2 separate regions of the Homo sapiens genome follow, and region 2 is linked to region 1. The links are contacts of gene promoters, found by promoter capture Hi-C in blood cells and fetal thymus (Javierre and others, 2016). All regions are on one chromosome and are shown on one strand. Each heading gives the region's core, a stretch centred on a gene start or on the middle of the fragment in contact. The rest is flanking DNA. Distances are from core to core; before and after follow the strand shown. Region 1 holds the start of DOCK11 (dedicator of cytokinesis 11). Region 2 overlaps DOCK11 (dedicator of cytokinesis 11).

The links. Contacts are between HindIII fragments. The CHiCAGO score rates a contact against its expected background, and 5 or more counts as called.
Region 2: a contact is called between a fragment that was not itself captured here and the fragment with the promoter of DOCK11 in region 1, in 12 of 17 cell types (activated CD4 T cells, non-activated CD4 T cells, megakaryocytes and 9 more). The highest score is 12.4, in activated CD4 T cells.

What each region holds. Positions count from the first base shown.
Region 1 is chrX:118,494,278-118,497,819 of GRCh38, reverse strand. DOCK11 (dedicator of cytokinesis 11) reads right to left here and starts at 2,005. Exons shown (of 53, transcript NM_144658.4): 1 at 1,747-2,005. The coding sequence starts at 1,848. RefSeq lists silencers at 1,478-1,537, 1,708-1,767, 1,858-1,937, 2,048-2,187 and enhancers at 1,217-2,195, 2,598-2,667. The HindIII fragment of the contact is 5,195 bases long and covers 1-3,542 here.
Region 2 is chrX:118,585,346-118,588,887 of GRCh38, reverse strand. It overlaps DOCK11 (dedicator of cytokinesis 11), which reads right to left. Exons shown (of 53, transcript NM_144658.4): 17 at 567-751; 18 at 410-475. Among named protein-coding and RNA genes, the nearest start is that of DOCK11, 91 kb to the right of the region's middle. The HindIII fragment of the contact is 4,896 bases long and covers 1-3,542 here.

The DNA of each region.
Region 1 (3,542 bases), core at 756-3,255:
TCGAGAAATCTGGCCACCTACAGCTTTCTTCACGTGTTGTGGTAGAAGGCCAGCCAACCCCGCTCAAGGAAGGTTTTTTGTTTTCTCTGAATTTAGGAAAGCGTTCTCTGCTAGGTAGATTGAATCACGTGTTAACAATCACCCAAGATGAGAGCCCTGGTATAAATGCTCTGCACACAGCTTGCCTTCCTCTCTTAACTGGCTGTGATGACAGGCAAGGCTCCAATCTGACCTCAACAGGTCCTCACTCCAAAATCAGACTGAAATACACAAGCCAAGTCCATTAAAGTAACATTAAAGGTCTGGATTTAGCTCCACTAAACAGCAGAATTAAACTTTCAAGGGTCTAGCCACAATAAAGAGATTTCTTTAAAGTCACTTAGGTTTGCACAGTTGTAGCTATTAGGGATCAGATCTTTATCTCAAAGGTACATAGTTTACCTTTGATCCTCCTCCAGAACTCCCACTAATGTCAACTTTCTCCACTGTTGGGATCAAGCCCCTGGCCTCCCTTTAATGCTGGGTTTTATTGCTGATTCTACAAGATCAACAGAAAAATTACAAGGAAAAGCTGTGAAGTTCCCTTCCGATGACAAGTTGTTTTAACAAAAAGAGCCCTCTCTTAAACGGTGAAATTTAAACACAGCAAACGACTCGCTGTAAAATGGAGCTGAGGGAGACAAAAACAAACAAAAACAACAACCAAAAAACAAAGTAACAAAACAAACACTAATTAATCAGTCCGATTGCTTATTCAGGGTTTGTTCGCTTGTCCAGGAAACTGGCAACGAGTGTCTTGAAAACAAGAGAAGGGGCAAGTGCCCGTTAGCACCCTTTAGCCTTTCTCCAGAGTCAGACAATCTGGATAAGGCTGAGGGTGCTCTGGGAGGGTTCCCAGGGAGTCAGCGCGCTTTCGAATCCCCATCCCCCAGTCCTGAGCTGTGGGGCTCTGACCCCAGGTCCTCCATCCCTGGACTGACACACCCAGTCTTCCCCCAAATCCCCACGGCACCGTCCCCTTGGTCCCCTTGCCTCTGGAGCGCTCGCGTGTCCCCGAGGGACACACTCTCCCTGCGGTGGATGACCCTGCGCCCACTCTGTCGCAGAACCCCGTTGTTTCTAATGCCCTTCCTCCGCAGCAGCACCCCTTCAACACCCATCACCACCCTCTCTCCCCAGTTGCAGGAGGAAGTCGCTCTGCTTCCTCTGTTCTCACCGCCAGCCCGAGCTTGGGCGCCCGGGGCTTTCTGGGTGGGGTTCTTTTTTGTGTACACAGTGTGTGTATGTGTGCGCGCGAGAGTGTGTGTGCCAAACGCTCATCGCATCCTTCCGCCTAGGCGGCCTCAGGTGCTCGCGGGAGGGGATCAGGATCTCGTCGTGCCCTTGTCCCCGGCTCTTTGTGCCGAGTCCAGAGCAGCGCGAGGTCAGCTCTTTAGCTCACACCCCCGGCCCCGACCCTGGGTGGGAGCCTCCGCCTCCGCCTCCTCCGCAGCCGTCCGAGCCCGGCTTTTGCCCGTCTGCTTCCATCCCGGCGCACGCCTCCGCCGTGCCGGGCGGCCGGAGAGCTGTCAGCCGGCGCCTGGGACTCGGACCCCGGCCGGCGGCTGCCGGTGCGAAAACTTACTGGAGCGGAGAAAGACAGCGCGCGGCGCACCAAGCGGCCGCACTGGCGCCGTTCCTGCCCCTTCCCGCGTCGCTCCCGCCTGGAGCGCGTCCCCCGGGATGCCCCGTCCCCCGGCCACTCACCAGCACCACGGAGCCCCGCACGGCCTCAGACACGCTCTGCCGGAGCTCAGCCGCCGTGCCAGGCTTGCTGAGCCGTTTGGTGAATTTGCGCACTTCGGCCATGGCAGCGGCGGCGGGCGGGTCTCGGCGGGCGGGCGGACCTCGGCGGGCGGGTGGACTCACTGCCCCGGCCCGCGGCGGCCGCGGCCGCTGCTGCTCCCTCTGTTTACTCGCCGGCCGGCCGGCCACATCGCAGCTCGGCGGCGGCGCGGCTCACGCTGCTCCTCCCTCCCACCTCCCACCCGCTGCTCCTCCCTCGTTCCCTCCTTCCCTCCTTTTCTCGCTCGCTTCGCCCGCTCACTGTCCTGCCCCACGGCGTCGGCGGCGGCAGCTCCCTCCCCTAGAGGGCCCGAGCTCCGATCGCCACCAGCCGAAGCAGGAGGGTGTGTCTGATGGGGAAGGGTGTGTAGAGGGGGAGGGAGAACTGGAGGTGGGGGCGAGGGTCACGAGGGAAGAGGGGGGAAGTGGCTACCGCTCGGGCTCCGCCCGCAGCTGATGTTGCTGGTGCAGCCGCATCCGGGAGGGGAGATCTGGGCTGCTTCTTTTTTTCCGCTTGAGTGGGGAGGGCGGGGTGGGGTGGGGGAACAGAGAGGGGTGATGAAATGTCTCCAAGAGTGGGGCGTGCTCCTCTCCCGCCCTAGTGCTCCTCTCCCGCCTCCGAGCTGCAGTGCCCGCAGGAGGGCTGGAGAACTCTCACGTCCCTCCACCCCGCAAGCCCCCAGGGCCCAGGCGGCTAGGGGCTGGAAAACAACGTGGAGCAGCCGCCTTTTGTGTGCTCCTTGGGGAAGGGTCGCACCAATGTCGAAGGACAGAGAGCTGCTTTCCAGCGTGAGCGGCTCGACTGGGTCCCCCTCCTCGCCCACACCGTTTTCCTACTCAGTTGGCTCACCTAACAGGGGGCAACACTGGGGAGAGAGCATGCTTCTGGAAGTGGGAACTTATTGTGGCGGCACCCCTCGCTCCGTCCCCCACGGGGGAGAGCTGGGTGGTGGAGCCTGAGCCTGTGGCAGGTGATCCCTAGGTCAGCACTGACTGCACCAGGAGTGGGGTGGGGGTGGGCATTAGGATGAGCCTGTGGCAGGTGATCCCTAGGTCAGCACTGACTGCACCAGGAGTGGGGTGGGGGTGGGCATTAGGAAGGCCATCTCCCTGGGTTTGGTGGACTTACCAATCTTATAGTAGCTTTTACAAGTGCCCTGCACTCACCTCTCCATTTCCTATTCATCTCCTTACTCTTTTCAGCTTCCAAGAAATTGTTTTTCCAAGAATCAAAGAACATCTCATAACAGGGTATAAAACGAACATGCTTAAGACAGAAATAGGGACGGGAATCTTGAAGTACTAGTGACCCTGTCAGACCTCCTGAAGTGCAGAGTGAAAGGCTCCACTGATGGTGGCAGTTTTCTATCTGGTTATTTCATTTGTTGAGAGTTTGAAAATGGCCCTCAGTCTGGGGGACCGAGCAGCCCTTCTGAAAGCAGTCCTACCACCACCCATCGGGCACTTTCCCCACCCTCAAAGACCAAACAGTCTTTTAGGGGACTTTATTATGGAAACAAGGGCATGCGTGGTGATGGTTTCTTTGAACCCAGAAAAGGCCAAGTCTCTTCGCAGTAAGCCTATTTCAGCCATCCCATCAGTCTCAATAAAGCATATATGGAGGCTCCTAGAGGGCCTGGGACCTGGAAGTCCTCTAAAGACATTCTGTCACAAATCTTAGTTTTGCACAGTACGTGTAAAATTTGTTAATTGTTGCG
Region 2 (3,542 bases), core at 379-2,878, 91 kb before region 1:
GGAGTAGAAGTCGTATCTCAGATCAAAGCAGTCATGCTGTGCTTCTGTCAGCTCAAAGCCTGTTCAGGTTTCAAGGAGAAAGGAGTTTATAGTCCCTTGATGGTACCATTATAAACTATCAGGTCATAAGAAAACGACCTTGCAATTGGGCATTGAAGCAATTGCAAAATCAAAAAGGAGCAAAAGCCAAAACCTGGCATTTTTAAAGCTATATATGCTCCTACTGCATTAATATTTAAACTAAGCCTTATAGTTAATATGTAAGAGTAGAAAAGAAAGTATTACATTTGTCACTTTAGAACATTTTCTTTTTGATGTTGATACAAATTAAACCTAGAGCATAAGACTACTGAGTACCAAAATCTCCATCTCTACTAAAAACATATGCCTATCAATATCATAAACAAACCTTTAGGGCACTAGCGTCACTTTCATCTGAATCCCGGAATTCCACACAGACTGCAATGTTCCTTGCCTAAAATGATTAATCAGTCAAAATGAGTCACACAATTAGCAGATTATAAATAACATTTTATACTCCAAAAATGTATAGTTTACATGGTTACCTTGGCAAATGTTTTCTGGCTATCGTATTTTAATTGCAGGGGATATACATACAGATGGTTTTTGTAAATAGTAAATGGATAACAATATTTTGTCATTTCTGGAACAAACTCTTCAACCTCCACAGTAATATTTTGGCAATTCTTTTCAAAAGGCTTCAAGGGCACATATGAAGAAGTAATACAATCTATAGCAGGGAAAAAAACAGGCAAAGATCATTCAGTTTAATAATCATTAACACATTCCTGCATGTATAAAAAATATACATGAATTGCATTCTCAAAGAGCGATTTAAAAAACATAATTCTTAGTAATTGACCAAAAAAATCACATGACAACTTTAAGAACCCAAAAAGACAAGACTGAGTAGTCTGATGCTGATTTTAGTGGAACCCTTCATACCAGACGTGGAGTGCTATTTCGTTCTCAATGTCGAGTGATTTGCCAAATATAACACATCATAATTTTGACAAATTTAAACTCTGCAAAGAAATCCATTTCATTTTCCCTCCTGTGGCAGCAATTTAGCTTTCACTGCAAATTTTTATTGGTATCAGGGAAATAACGGTAAATTTATGCTTCCAATTAGTTCATGGCAAGTCACTTTTTAAAAGCTAACTTGGTACAGGTGCAAATTTTCACCTAAGAAATAATGGAGGCCTTTTGATCTTACGATGTGTTACCAATGATAAACTCAATACCCCGACCGTGAAAAAATACTAAGCCTCAGAGAAGTTTAGCAGCATATGTTATTGAAATCGTCACTGTAGTAAAGGTTATTCATATACTTAAGGGGCTCTAAGACTGCTGGTCCTTGCTGCAGAGCAGTAATGATGAAGGAAGACCCAGGGAGAGTTGGACCTGAGGATGCTGTATTTTTTGTTGGATTTGCTTTTCTGATTATTACAGTGATACATGCCTATAACAGAGCATCTGGAGGTAGACAGTGAAGGTAGACAAGGACAGTTGCTCATTCCGCCACCCAGAGATAACTACTGTTGAGACTTTGGCATATCTTCTTTTAGTCTTCTATGCATATTGTATATAGTGATATGAAAATCCTACACTATATATAGAACTTTATCCTGATTTTTCGACATTTATCTGATGTCTCATTCCATGAACTCTTTGTAAACATTGCTGTTAATGGCTGCAATAAAGTTTCATGGTATCAGTGTAGCATCATTATCTTAACCACACTGACAGTGTTGGATTCTGATTGTTTCCAATTTTCCTCCAATATAAATAACACTGCAAAGAACATCTTTATGGATCCATTTCTGCCTAGATTTCAAATTGCTTCTTTAGGAAAAAATAATCCATTGTACTCTTAGATGTTTTAAAATATAAAGTGGATGCCACACCTCCATTTACTATTCTTTATTGACTTCTCACTGCATTTAGAATAAAATTCAATTTTTTAAGGCATTACCACAGTCAACACAATTCCTTACATGACCTGATGCTTCCTATTTTATCTCCTATCTCCACTGTTCCCATCACATACTACACTAGAGCTATACTGGATTCCCTTCTGTTCATGCAAACCCAGCTTGGTCTCACCTCAAGGTCTTTACATATATATGTGATGGTCTTTACAACGTATGTGATGCCCTCAGTCTGAAAATGTTCAGTCCCAATCACCACATGCTGGCTCTCTTTCTCCCTCTTCAGTTCCTGAGCTTAAGACAGGTGTTCCCTGGCTACCCTTTTTACAGCTGCCCTTGTGATATGGTTAGGCTTTGTGTCTCCACCCAAATCTCACCATGAATTGTAATCCCCAGGTGTTGAGGGAGAGACCTGGTGGGAGGTGAATGTATCATGGGGCGGTTTCCCCCATGCTGTTCTTGTGATAGTGAGTGAGTTCTCATGAGATCTGATGGTTTTATAAGTGTTTGGAAGTTCCTCTTTCATTCACTATTTATCTCGCCTGCCACCACAAAAGACGTGCCTGCTTCCCCTTCTGCCACGATTTTAAGTTTCCTGAGGCCTCCCCAGCCATACAGAACTGTGAGTCAATTAAACCTCTCTCCTTTATAAATTACCCAGTCTTGGGTAGTATCTTTATAGCCGTGTGAAAAACGGAGTAATACAACTCGTTTGCTTGCATACTATCTGTCACTCCTTCTAGACTTTAAACTCCCTACGTTTAAAGCACCTCGTTGGTAGTCAATAAACGTTTACTCAATAGATAGTTATTCAGTGAATGAATGCATATACTCTCAGAATTGGAATGCCCTACTTATGAACATCTATGGATATCTATTACCAAACTGTACTCCTACTCATGATAGGTGATACCACCTGGCCAAAACCTAGCCAGCATTAGGTAGCTTCACTTTAAACATTTTAATAGATTTGATGGATGAGCAAAAGCATATTGTTTAATTTGCCTTACTGGCATTATTACTAAGATTGAATATTTTTCACATATTTACTAGCTACTTCATTTTATCTCTTGCAAATTGTGTTTTGTGTCTTCTATTTTTCTCCTGGGATCTTGGATTCTTGTCCTTAGACAAGAAAAGAAATCCTTCTCCTTTTTCATCTCTTAGTTGATGACAGAAGTAAAAGTTACCAAAGGCAAAAGGCAATAGAACCTGACTGGGACACACTCACAACTTCGTATATATGAAACAGCATCTGATAAAATCAACTCAATTCACTTCCTAATCTGTAACTATTCATCGTGCATACTGGGTTGAAAAGCATCCACGCCCCCACTCAAAATTCATGTCCACCCGGAACCTCAGAATGTGACTTTATTTAGAAATGGGATATTTGTAGATGCAATTAGTTAAGATGAGGTCATACTAGATTAGATGGGCCTTAAATCCAATGACTGGTGTCCTTATAAGAAGGTCATGTGATGACAGAGGAGAAGTTGGAGTGATGCAGCCACAAGCCAACTGATGCCAAGGTTAGCTGGGAGCTACTGGAAGGCAGGAAGAGGCAAGGAATGGCTCTTCCCTAGAGCA